Regions from separate parts of the Homo sapiens genome. Here region 1 is linked to region 2. Evidence: promoter capture Hi-C in 16 types of primary human blood cells and fetal thymus (Javierre and others, 2016). All regions are on one chromosome and are shown on one strand. Each heading gives the region's core, a stretch centred on a gene start or on the middle of the fragment in contact. The rest is flanking DNA. Distances are from core to core; before and after follow the strand shown.

What was found. The method cuts DNA at HindIII sites, captures the fragments that hold promoters and counts their contacts. A CHiCAGO score of 5 or more calls a contact.
Region 1: a fragment that was not itself captured here is called in contact with the fragment with the promoter of TENT5B in region 2 in 2 of 17 cell types (M0 macrophages and endothelial precursors); the score reaches 7.9 in M0 macrophages.

The regions. Positions count from the first base shown.
Region 1 is chr1:27,291,885-27,298,216 of GRCh38, forward strand. WDTC1 (WD and tetratricopeptide repeats 1) reads left to right here. Exons shown (of 16, transcript NM_001276252.2): 7 at 331-513; 8 at 2,138-2,232; 9 at 2,630-2,745; 10 at 4,442-4,517; 11 at 5,164-5,272; 12 at 6,054-6,227. Among named protein-coding and RNA genes, the nearest start is that of TMEM222, 27 kb to the right of the region's middle. The HindIII fragment of the contact is 2,749 bases long and covers 1-2,644 here.
Region 2 is chr1:27,010,300-27,017,207 of GRCh38, forward strand. TENT5B (terminal nucleotidyltransferase 5B) reads right to left here and starts at 2,551. Exons shown (of 2, transcript NM_052943.4): 1 at 2,108-2,551. The coding sequence starts at 2,371. RefSeq lists enhancers at 1,797-2,450, 2,451-3,105. The HindIII fragment of the contact is 29,862 bases long and covers 1-6,908 here.

The DNA of each region.
Region 1 (6,332 bases), core at 20-2,519, 280 kb after region 2:
ATTAAGGGGCAATACTGGACATAAAGCACATTTTCACTAAGTGTTGGTAATCAGTAGTAGTATAATAGTAGCAATAATACTAACATCTGTAGAATATGTACAATAGTATCCACCTTAGGAGTTCTAGTAGAATAGAATGTGTGAGAAGCCTACTACAGGTACCTGGCACACTGTGGACACTCAAGAAATGGGAGTTGTTTTTGACATTCTTATTTAGAAACAGGTCCAAAGTCCCTCCCAATCCTCTTGCATAACAAGAACTTATCTTTTCCCCTGCCTTCCTCTCAAGGACCCCAAGCCCCAATTCCCTAACTCTGTCCTCTCTCACAGCCAGTATGACCTTCGAGAGAACAGCAAACACTCGGAGGTGCTGATTGACCTGACAGAGTACTGTGGCCAGCTGGTGGAGGCCAAGTGCCTCACTGTCAACCCCCAGGACAACAACTGCCTGGCAGTTGGGGCCAGCGGGCCCTTCGTGAGGCTCTATGACATCCGCATGATCCATAACCACAGGTATGAATAGTTCAGCCTCCTGTCTCCTGTGAGTAAGTCCCCAGAGAACCTACTGCCCCTTTCCCTCACTGCCATTGCCATGCCCTCTTCTTCTATCACAGCTCACTGCAGCCTCAACCTCCCAGGCTCAAGCGATCCTCCCATCTCAGCCTCTCAAGTAGCTGAGACTACAGTCACACGCCACCTCGCTTGGCTAATTTTTTAATTTTTTTATAGGGGCGGGGTCTTTCCTTGTTGCCCAGGCTGGTCTCAAACTCGAGCTAAAGCAATCTTTCCACCTCGACCTCCCAAAGTGCTGGGACTACAAGCATGAGCCACTGTGCCTGGCCCCTTCTTTTATTTATTTATTTATTGTTTTACTTTTTTTTTTTTTTTTTTTTTTGAGACAGAGTCTTGCTCTGTCACCCGTGTTGGAGCGCAGTGGCACAATCTCAGCTCACTGCAACCTCTGCCTCCCGGGTTCAAGCTGTTGTCCTGCCGAGTAGCTGGGATTACAGGCACCTGCCACCACACCTGGCTAATTTTTGTATTATTAGTAGAGACGGGGTTTCACCATGTTGACCAGGCTAGTCTTGAACTCCTGACCTCAGGTGATCTGCCCGCCTCGGCCTCCCAAAGTGTTGGGATTACAGACGTCAGCCACCACACCCAGCCTGGCCCCTTCTTCTTTATGAAATGGACTTTCTTCAATTTTGTGATTTTTTAAAAAACTTAATCCTCGCTTATGTTGGAAAATATGAAAAGTATAAATTAGGCCGGGCGTGGTGGCTCACGCCTGTAATCCCAGCACTTTGGGAGGCCGAGGCAGGCGGATCACGAGGTCAGGAGATCGAGACCATCCTGGCTAACACGGTGAAACCCCGTCTCTACTAAAAATACAAAAAATTAGCCGGGCGTGGTGGCGGGTGCCTGTAGTCCCAGCTACTGGGGAGGCTGAGGCAGGAGAATGGCGTCAACCTGGGAGGCGGAGCTTGCAGTGAGCAGAGATCCTGCCACTGCACTCCAGCCTGGGTGGCAGAGTGAGACTCAGTCTCAATTAAAAAAAAAAAAAAAAAAGTATAAATTACCCATAATCTCTTACATAAATTCCTTATGATTTCCTTATATTTATTTATTCTTATAATTTCTTATATAAATCTCTTATAGTGTCTTTCTTAAAGAAATCACTGTATATAATATTTCCTGCTAGTTCTTATAACACTCAGAACCCCCACAGCACTCTCAGACCTGAGTTGCCTCTCCAGCCTGGGCTTTCCATGATTCTTGGGATGGATGCAGGAATGTCGCCTGTTTATTTTCATTCATGGGCTTGGTGACCACTGCTGCCCCTCACACACTGCATGGCTTGGAGCGGGTCTTGAACCTTAGCTTGCTTGTTTGTAAAATGGGAAAAATAAGATGGTCATGAAGACCCAGACAGCTTATAGGACCTACCTGGTAAAGCACTGTAATGTATATGTCTGTAATTGTCTAGTTGGTGGGCCTTTGGGGTTGCTTAGGTAAGGAGGAAAAATACCTCCTGTATGTCTCAGATACAAATGTAAGTTTTCGTCTAGTGAGTGTGGTCTGGTCTAGCCAGGGGCAGTGCTGTAACTTTAACCTATATGATTTTCCTTCCCACCAGAAAGAGCATGAAGCAGAGCCCTTCAGCGGGTGTGCACACCTTCTGTGACCGGCAGAAACCCCTTCCGGACGGTGCAGCCCAGTATTACGTAGCAGGTAGCGCTCAGCACAGCTCTGGCCCCAAACTCTCGGCTAGATGCTGACTCTTTTGGGGGCAGTCCAGGGAGACAGCATGGCATGGTGGTCAAGAGCAAGGGTTTTAGAGTCAGACAGACCTGAGTTTTAATCCCAACTCTGCCATTGACAAGCTATGTCACCTTCAGCAAATTACAGAAAAGAAACTCATCAAGGTTAAGTAAAATGGGGTTATAATGACTAAATGAGATAAAATATATAAAGCAACTAGCCCAGTGCATATAGTAAGGGCTCAACACTTGTAGCTGCTTTTATGCTAAAGTTGATTGGTATAATTTTTGATATGACTGACTTCACACAATCTCATGCCCCTTTGAAAGGGACTGGGACCCTAGTATGACTGGGCTATTCCCTGCAGGTCACCTGCCAGTGAAGCTTCCTGACTACAACAACCGTTTGAGAGTGCTGGTTGCCACCTATGTGACCTTCAGCCCCAATGGCACAGAGCTACTAGTCAACATGGGGGGGGAACAGGTATGTACAGCATAAGGTGGTTCTGCCCCATCACCATTCCATGCCCAGCAGCCAGGGGCATGTACCTTATGTTCACTGCTGAGGCAGACAAGACACAACAGCCTTATGGTAAATGATGTTACATTGAAATGTGGGGGTGATGTGGCATCATTGGAGTTCCCAGAGAGATGTCCTAGCTCAGTCTTTTTATTTCATTTTTTCTTAATGAACTAGATAGAAATATGATAGTATGGCATTTTGGTTAAGAATATAGGCTTTGGAATGGACAGACTTCTGTTCAAATGCTGGCCTGCTGTTCAGCAGCTGTTTACTGTGACTTTGAGCAAGTCTCTTTATTTTTCTGAGCCTCAGTTTCCTCGTCTGCTATTTTCCTAGGAGGAAATCCCTGGGGCTCAGAGCATGCAGCTCAGAGCAAGCTGTGGGTTAGTGCCAGCTTTGGGAAGTGTTCTTTGATAATGGCAGGTTGCTAAACCTTCTGTTTGTGTGCTCTCAGGATATTTAGTAAGCCTTGCATACATTTATTTACTCTACCAACACTGAGCACTTACTCTGGGACTCGCATTATTATAAATATAATAGAGACAAGTGGGAAATATGATCCATCCCCAGGCTGATGGGAGACATGACAAACGAAACAGTTAATGACATTACAAGGCAAGGCCCAAATATATACAAATGAAGCGGGATGCAGAATAGGTGAGGATAAGCCAGACATTCCTGGACCTGTCCAAGGAATCATGAAAAGCTCAGGAGTAGTGCTAGGGTAAACATTTGGCTTTGTGACCTTTGAGGACTTCTTCATCTTTTTAAACATGTGACGTGTTTTTTGTTTTTTTTTTTTGAGTTGGAGTTTCGCTCTTGTTGCCCAGGCTGGAGGGCAATGGTGCGATCTCGGCTCACTGCAACCTCCGCTCTGCCTCCTGGATTTAAGCAATTCTCCTGCCTCAGCCTTCCAAGTAGCTGGGATTACAGGCACATGCCACGCCTGGCTAATTTTGTATTTTTAGTAGAGATGGGGTTTCACGATGTTGGTCAGGCTAGTCTCGAACTCCTGACCTCAGGTGATCCGCCCACCTCACCCTCCCAAATGCTGGGATTACAGGCATTAACCACTGCACCTGACCTTCTATTTTGTTTGTTTGTTTGTTTGTTTTGAGGCAGGGTCTCATTCTGTCACCCAGGCTGGAGTGCAGTGGTACAATCTCAGGTCACTGCAGCCTCGACATCCCAGGCTCAAGTGATTCCCCCACCTCAGCCTCCTGAGTAGCTGGGACCACAGGCACACGCCACCACACCTGGCTAGTTTTTGTATTTCTTGTAAAGACGGGGTTTTGCCATGTTGCCCAAGCTGGTCTCAAACTCCTGGGCTCAAGCAACCACCCTCCTGCCTCAGCCTCCTAAAGTGCTAGGATTACAGGCTACGCCACCATGCCCAGCCAAATGTGATTCTAATTAATGATAGTATTTCAAGCAGGACTTTGGGTAGATCAGATAGCCCACCCTGAATGCTAGAGCTAGGAAGATTTTCCAGCCTGAGGTTTGCTGGAAGTACCTCTTAGGATAGCTTGATTGTTCTATGCTCAACACTCACTGTGTTCCAAGACTCTAGTTCTTGAGAAACCAAGACCTGCTTACTGGTTCAACCACATCCTTACCTCACAGCTTCCATCTCTTTTTTTGCCCCCCTCAACTCTAGGTCTATTTGTTTGACTTGACTTACAAGCAGCGGCCGTACACCTTCCTCTTGCCTAGAAAATGCCACTCCTCGGGGGGTAAGTTCTCCCTTAGGGTATCTCTACTGCGGCGGTGTAGGGGAGCTTAAGTGCATGCTACACCTGCTGAGAAGCCTGCCCTTTACTCTGGACCGTGATCCTCCAAAAATAGCAGATCTCTGAAATAACCCCACCTATGCAGTAAGAAAGAGGATGACAATAGAGCAGAGATCTCTTCAAGAGCTTTGCATCACTGCCCTTTTTGCTTCCCTCTGAAAAGACAGGTTCCTTCCATGGCTTGGCTCTTGAGAACCTGAAATAGTTCCCCTCTCCTTTGTATCCTGGCCCAGTCTTCTCATTGATTTCTTCCTGGGGCCTACAGTTGATTTAGGCACCTCCTCACTCCATTCCCACCCCCAGCCCCAGCCCTAGCCCCAGCCCCAACCCTAGCCCCAGCCCCAGCCCTAGCCCCAGCCCCAGCCCCAGCTGAGTAATGCCACGGTGAAGTTGTGTCCCTCGCCAGCCAGCAGAGGGCGCACGGGCTTTTCTTTATGTCAGAACTTGCTTTCTGGGAATGGATCTTACTCTGGGAGAACAGTCCCACGATGGAACCATCAGACCCCGTGATGGAAGCTAGAGGGCTGCCAGGAAGAAATGGGTCCTCTTCCTGAGTTGTTGCTGTCACTTTCTCACTATCTCCTGCCAGAAGTCCAGAATGGCAAGATGTCCACCAACGGTGTGTCCAACGGTGTGTCCAATGGCCTGCACCTTCATAGCAATGGCTTCCGGCTGCCGGAGAGTAGGGGACATGTCAGGTGAGGCCAGCTGGCTTGTCCAGCCCTCCAAGCCCCAGTTACACTATATGGACTGGAGGGAGGGACATAACCTGTAAATCTTCCTCCTGACCCACACCCACTCATGCATCCCAGAGAGTGAGGACCAAGGCAAAGAGCCTTCTTGGAGGGTGCCTAGTGTTTCCAGTGCCCCTCTGCCTGGCAGAACACTAGTCATGGTCAGACTGTAGCTCTAGCCTGTTGGTACCAGTAACTGGGGTCAGGACTCAGGAGCTAGCTGCCTCTTAGCACTGAGCTGTCTCCAAAAAGGGGCTGCATACAAATGGGCCTCCGCATTATATTATTCCCCATCCTATAGCATATCCTTGCCTCTTTTCTCTGCCAGCCTCTGTGCTGGGCTTTGGATACAGAGGCGCTCAAATTCCCTAGCCTTGAGAGAAATAGAGTTCTCTAGACAGCGATCCACAGGAGGGACTCGGGTGGTCATAAGGTTCAGCTCAGCATGGAGGCAGGTGGTATCAGCTACTACCATGCCCAGGAGTTGAAGTACAGCTTCATTTCTGCCCTTCTTTTCACTGGCTGAGAGTATTTGGAATGGTATTTGGAATGAAATTCCAAATGGTATTCCCTATCACAGTAATAGGTAATATCCCAGACCAGGGTAGTGGTCCCCTCTTCCAGATAGCAGTCAGATCCCAGGGGCCAAGAAAATCTGGGTGGCCCTCAGGCCATGTTACAGACTCCCTGAGGGGCTGCTCTGACCTTCTTTGACTGTTCTGACTTGGCTCTATTTCCCCTGCAGCCCCCAAGTAGAGCTACCACCATACCTGGAGCGTGTGAAACAGCAAGCCAATGAGGCTTTTGCCTGCCAGCAGTGGACCCAAGCCATTCAGCTTTACAGCAAGGCTGTGCAGAGGGCCCCTCACAATGCCATGCTTTATGGAAACCGAGCAGCAGCCTACATGAAGCGCAAGTGGTGAGTGGCCACTGCAGAGGGGATCTGGGTCAGGATGAGGGAGAAAGCAGCTGGACCAAAAGGCAGGGGCCTGATGGAGCCAAGTTGCCAAGGCATCCAGGGAAA
Region 2 (6,908 bases), core at 1,301-3,800:
TGCCACTACAGGCAAAGCCTTGCAGGGGGGTAGAGGGAGAAAGGTTCCAATTTTTGAGCCATAGGACAACTCAGCAGCAGTGAAAAGCCCCAAGGCAACAACCGACACCACCCTCCCCCTCTCCCCGCCCCCATCCCTGCACACATCCCAACAGCTTTAGAAGCTGCCAGCTGTGGATTTCTTCCAAGAAACTTTCTTCGCTGTGGAGGCAGCTGTACAGACCAGGTGAAGGCACCTGTCCCCTTTGGAGTCTGGAACCAGAGAGGGTGTTGGAGAGCAGCAGCCTAATCTATCCATCCCAGTTGAACAGATGGGGACACTGAGCCCAGCAAAGAGAATTGACAACAAACAGTCCAGGGCCTGAATCCAGAAGTCCAACTTCCCAGCCCAGCTCTGAAGTCTCTGCTGCCCTTCCTCACCATCGCCGACAGCTCCCTGTTCTGTGCTATCTCTGACCCAGGTCTAGAAGGACATGGCACCACCATTGCATTGTAAAGTTAGCTTCTATTGACCTGGAGTCTCCCCCATCTGGCTAGGAGCACCTGAAGGGATGGAGGCTGAGTCCTAGTCACATCTGTGCCCTTGGTTTCCTAAACAGGGCTTGGCACAGAGCAGACACCAAGAGGCAATCTGAGCCATACTGACAGGGCAAGGACTTCTCCTCCTTCCAGGGTATCCCTTGTTCTTGCAGAGGGGGGCTGCCACACTGGGCTCCACCTTCCCCTCCCTGCCATGCCTGGGGCCACAATCCTGGAGGTGCAGCAGCTGGGGCCCCAGGAATGACTTGACTGTCCCGGGGATTAAAGCCTCGACTGGTTTCCTAATCACCCAGGTGACAGCGAGCAGCCGAGGAATGCCTCGGCGAACTCCACTGGGCCGCGTGTGAGTCAGCCAAGGAGAATCTGCCCCCGCCCCCTCCAGTTCCTAGTTCCTTGGGAGGGTGGGGGAGGTAATCCCCCAGCAGGCAACCCTCCCCCTCTGTGGGAAGCCAAGGTAGTAGGAGGCAGGGGAAAGGCCTACTTCATCCAAAGGAAGCCATCAGTTGGCAGGAACGCACAGGAGTCCTCGCTGGGTTTCTTGGTTTCTTTTATCAAAGGACCCTCCCTAACACCTAGAAGTTGACCTTGGGAGCCGGGGAAGGGGTGGGAAAACATTGAACCTACTGTAATCTGCTCCTGGGAAGACCCAAAATTCCCTAGGTTTGATTTTCACCTCATTAAGTAATCTTGGGTGGCAAACTGCCCCAGCTATAAAATGGGTACAATAATGACCACACTGTGGTATTTCAGAACATGACAGCGTCTGGGCTGTACAGATGAAAAAGCAGTCTTGGGGTCGTTGAGGTTCAGATAAAGGGAAGAGTTGGAGGAGGGAGGGGCTGTCAGAATTCTCTTCTCCCTTTCCTCAGGAGAGAGAGGACGTGGGGCCTGAGGCCTGGGTTGGCCTTCATTTCCAATCTTGGGAAGGAGAAGAAACACCTAAATTGGTCACTTAATGTTGCCCTTGGGGGTGGGGTATCAGGTCTGACCTTCGGCTTAATAAATATTGGGCCACAACCCCAGCTGAGAGAGAGGGAGTCCCTGACAAGTTTTCTTGGCTTTTCCACGGGGTGGAGGGGGAAGGGGGGGTTTCTCCAGCAAAAGGCTGTAGGAGCACAATGGCAGAGGCTGCTCCTAGAACCTCGAGAGAGGAAAGGAGGGTGAGGTCCAGGGATGCCCAGATAGGGAAGGAAAAGCTATTTTGGACTCAAGCATGCACACTTACCCACCCAGGGCCACCTGGCGTCTTTTGTCCTTGCAGGCAGAGACAAATTCTTCCCCCAATGCCCTTGACATCCTCCTCCCCTCTCCCAGCCAGGCCCTGGGTGAGTGATCCGTGGGGAATCAGGGTTCTCCAAGAGTCGAGATGGAAAAGCCAGGTGGGGAAGGATTAGTAGATGCAGGGGGAGGTCTGGTCTACCATTCATAATGCTGTGCAATTGTTACAGCCATGTCCCCGTTCCTCAGTTTCCCTAGCTGTCTAGAAAGTCAAACAGACTACAAATGCCTTCCAGCCACGAGAGCCTCAGAAGGGATTCCCCCACATCCCCCGCCTGGCGTCCTCTCACCTGCACGATCTGCCGGGGCTGCACGCTCAGCGTGGGGAAGTTGCCGCGCCCGTGAATGGGAATCGGCTCGCTCAGAAGAGCGTCCAGTCGCTTCACCTGTGGCCAGCTCAGCCCACTCAGGTGCCGTCCGGGGAAGGCCGATAAGGCCTCCGGGTCGGGGCCGCCGCCTGCCGGGGCTGCCGTGGCCACCGCCGTGGCCGCAGCCGTCCCCACCTGAGCAGCCGCCCGGTCCCTGCGCTCAGCTCCGCTCTCCGACGGCATCATCCGCCCGGCCCCCGGGCCCCGACGGCAGAAACCGTGGGGGTGGTTAAGGGGAGGAGGACAGGGAGAGCGGCTGGGCAGGGGCCAAGGCGGGGGGCACGAAGGCAGGGACGGGGCGGCAACGACGGCGAGACAAAGCCAGGGAACACCTCAGACGGCGACGACTAACCGACCCTAGCGCCTGCAGCCCGCGGCCCAGCGGACTCTTATAGGCCGCGGGCGACGTGCCCATTGGTCCGGGCCGCTGCCAACAGCGAGAGCCGCCCCGCCTCTGAACGCTCCGGACACTGGTCTGTAGAGCTTTGCACGTGAGTCACTGTTCTCTAGGGAGATTCCGATTGGCTAGAGGGCACGCCCCTGCCCCGCCCTCCTTCTCAGGCTGAATTCCCTCCTTTGGTCCTTAAAGAACTTCTGTTCACTGTGATTGGCCCGGGCCTGGACTTAAAGGGACAGCGCCCACCCCGCCCCGCCAGGGTCAGGAGGGAGGGAAGTGACCTGCGGAGTTTGTAGCAGAGTCAGACCACTGAGAAATTCCAGGTTTCTGTTTTTTTTTTTTAGCGCTGGAAGAAATTGAGAAGTCACCTAGCCTTGTCCTGCTATTTTCAGAAGCCCAAAGAGATTGAGCCACGTGATCAACTCTGCACAGCACTGCTCATGCTCTGGCAGTTTTCCAGAGCCTAGGAAAGGTATAATAAACAACTCTGGGCCCGGCGCGGTGGCTCACGCCTGTAATCCCAGCACTTTGGGAGGCCGAGGTGGGCGGATGACAAGGTCAGGAGATCGAGACCATCCTGGCTAACACGGTGAAACCCCGTCTTTACTAAAAATACAAAAAATTAGCCGGGTGTGTGGCGGGCGCCTGTAGTCCCAGCTACTCGGGAGGCTGAGGCAGGAGAATGGCGTGAACCCGGGAGGCGGAGCTTGCAGTGAGCCGAGATTGCGCCACTGCACCCCAGCCTGGGCGACAGAGCGAGACTCCGCCTCAAAAAAAAAAAAATTAATAATAATAATAAACTCTGCATACCAAGGTAAAGGCCTTTTTTTTTTTTTTTTTTTTTTTTTTTCTCGAGACAGAGTCTCGCTTTGTCACCCAGGCTGGAGTGTAGTGGCGCGATCTTGGCTTACCGCAAGCTCCGCCTCCCGGGTTCAAGCAATTCTCCTGCCTCAGCCTCCCGATTAGCTGGGATTACAGGCATGCGCCACCAAGCCCGGCTAATTTTTTTGTGTTTTTAGTAGACACGGGGGTTTCACCATATTGGCCAGGCTGGTCTTGAACTCCTGACCTTGTGATCCACCCACCTCGACCCCCAAAGTGCTGGGATTACAGGCGTGAGCCACTGTGCCCGGCCCTAAAGTAAAGGCTTTCTAAGACACTGTTGATTGGCCTCGCAAACCACAGCATGATGAGCGTTGATGTACAGCATAGCCAATTTAGGGAAGGAGAGATCTGCTCAGAGAGGCTTTGTGATTACCCGACTGTCACACAGCAAACTAGTAAGGCCCTGGTCCTCAACCAGGGCTATAGAATCTGTGGTGCATGTTTTTTCCACTGTACCTATGCAGACCCAGCTCCTTTCTGGAGCTAGAGAACGAATAATGTGTTTACATGTTTTTCTGCAGGTCTAGACAAAACATAATTTAAAAAAAATATGTTTACATGTTTTGCTCTCACACTTTACAGGACCTAGGGGATGAGGCTTATGATTGTCGTTACTTTTATTTTTTATTTTTATCTATTTATTTATTTTTTGAGAGAGGGTCTCACTCTGTTGCCTGGACTGGAGTTGACTGTCATGATCATGGCTCACCACAGCCTCAACCACCCTGGCTCAAGCAATCCTCCCAATCCCAGCCTCCTGAGTAGCTAGGACTACAGGCACACGCCACAGCACCCAGCTAATTTTTCTGTTTTTTTTTTTTTTTTTGTAGAGATAAGGGTCTGGCCATGTTGCCCAGGCTGGTCTTGAACTCCTGGGCTCAAGTGATCTGCCCACTTCAGCCTCCTGAAGTGCAGGGATTACAGGTGTCAACTACTGTGCCTGGCCTGTTATTACTTTTATTTTTCCCCAACCTCACCTGTTGCTTTTAATTTTTTTTTCTGATTTTAAACATGTGCTGTAGCAAAAATTCAGAAATTGAGTCTATCTGATTCATTGCTGCAATTTTTTTTCTTAAATATTGTTCTCCTGACCAGGCACGGTGGCTCACGCCTGTAATCCCAGCACTTTGGGAGGCTGAGGCAGGCAGATCACCTGAGGTCAAGAGTTTGAGACCAGCCTGGCTAACATGGTGAAACCCCATTTCTACTAAAAATACAAAAAATTAGCTGGGCGTGGTGGTAGGCACCTGTAGCACCTGTATTCCCAACTACTCGGGAGGCTGAGGCAGGAGAATCGCTTGAACCTGGGAGGCGGAGATTGCAGTGAGCCGAGATCTGTGCCATTGCACTCCAGCCTAGGCAACAATAGTTATACTCTCTCTCTCTCAAAAAAAAGTTCTCCTAACAATATATTAAATTAAATTTCATTCTCGTAATATTCTCCCATTCGCCTGTCAGGCAGGTTGGGAAGGAGTAATACACCAAATTTACAGGAGAAATCATGACCTAGAAACAGTAAACTACATCCCAATGCCATCAGGTTGACTCTGACAGACCTGGAACTAAAACCCAGGAGCCTGACTCTCACAACAGAGCAGCCACTTCCTCTTTCTGGAGGCGAGCCCAGGCAAGAGGCTGCCCATCTCGCTTCACTCCATCTTGTCTAGGATCAGGGGCTTCCTCTGGCCCTCAGGGAGGGGACACACTACTTGTGCTACTGCTTGACCACGTGACCTTGGGGAAGTCCCTTTCATCATCCTCAAGGCAAGTGCCTGCTTTGTTTTACCTTTTCTTGAAAGCTAAGAAATGGAGGGGACCAGTGGTTCATGCCTGTAAGACCAGGGAGACCTCATCTCTACATAAAAACATAGGGAGACCTCATCTCTATATAAAAATTTTAAAAAGGCCAGGTGCGGTTGTTCACTCCTGTAATCTCACCACTTTGGGAGGCTGAAGCAGGCGGATCATAAGGTCAGGAGTTCAAGACCAGCCTGACCAATATGGTGAAACCCTGTCTCTACTAAAAATACAAAAAATTAGCCGGGTGTGGTGGCACGTGCCTGTAGTCCCAGCTACTTGGGAGGCTGAGGCAGGAGAATTGCTTGAACCCAGGAGGCGGAAGTTCCAGTAAGCTGAGATCGTGCCACTGCACTCCAGCCTGGGCGACAGAGCAAGACTCCATCTCAAAATAAATAAATAAATAAAAATAAATTAAAAAAAAAAAGATAGCAGCCGGAAGTGGTAGCTCATGCCTGTAATCCCCGCACTTTGGGAGGCTGAGGTGGGAAAGTCATCTGAGACCAGGAGTTTGAGACCAGCCTTCATAGCGAGACCTCATCTCTACAAAAATTAAAAGAAAGTAGCCTGGCATGGTGGCACGTGCCTGTGGTCCCAGCTAGTTGGGAGGCTGAAGTGGGAGAATCGCTTGAGGTGGGGAGGTCAAGCCTGCAGTGAGCCATGTTTACACCACTGCACTCCAGCCTGGGTGACAAAAAGAGACCCTGTCTCAGAAAAGAAAAGAAATAGATAGAAATCGCCTTTGGCTGAGTCCAGAGTCTCCAAACCCTTGAACTACCAAGTCTCTCTGAGGCTACTGATGAAAGAGCTTGAGGCTCAGCCACAGCACTGTCTCTTACCCCCACCTCCATACCCCAGCAGAGGAAGGAGGTGTGGGGAAAGGAAACTAACATTTACTGAACACCTACTATGCACTAGATTATTTTACATACATAAGCTCTAATTCCTAAAGATACACCGCAAGATGTGGGATCATTATCCCCAATTTACAGATGAAGACACTGAGGTTTAGAGAGGTTAAGTGATATGCCCAAGGTTATACAGTCACTAATTGGCAGTTTGGAACTCAAATCCAGGTCTCCTGACCCCAGAGCCCTATTGTTCAACTGCTCCTCTAAGAAGACTCAGCACAGATCAGTCATGCTTGGCACAGTCCTGGCACCACCCACAAGATCTATACATTCATTCATTCATCAGCCAACATACATACTGAGCACCTATCTGTGTACCAGGTGCTGGGCTGGGCCCTGAGAAATAATAGGCAAGGTCCCTGCCCTTCTAGAACTTTTTTCTTTTTTTGAGACAGAGCCTCACTGTGTTGCCAGGCTGGAGCACAGTGGCACAATCTCAGCTCACTGCAACCTCCACCTCCCAGGTTCAAATGATTCTCCTGCCTCAGCCTCCCAAGTACCTGGGATTACAGGCCCACACCTGGCTAATTTTTGTATTTTTAGTAAAGGGTTTCACCATGTTGTCCAGGCTGGTTTCGAACTCCCGATCTCAAGAGATCTGCCCACCTTGGCCTCCCAAAGTGCTGGGATTACAGGCATGAGATACCATGCCCGGCCCTTCTAGAACTTTCGTTCTTTCTCCCTTTCTTTGTTTTAGAGATTGGATTTCACCATGTTGCCCCAGCTAGTCTAA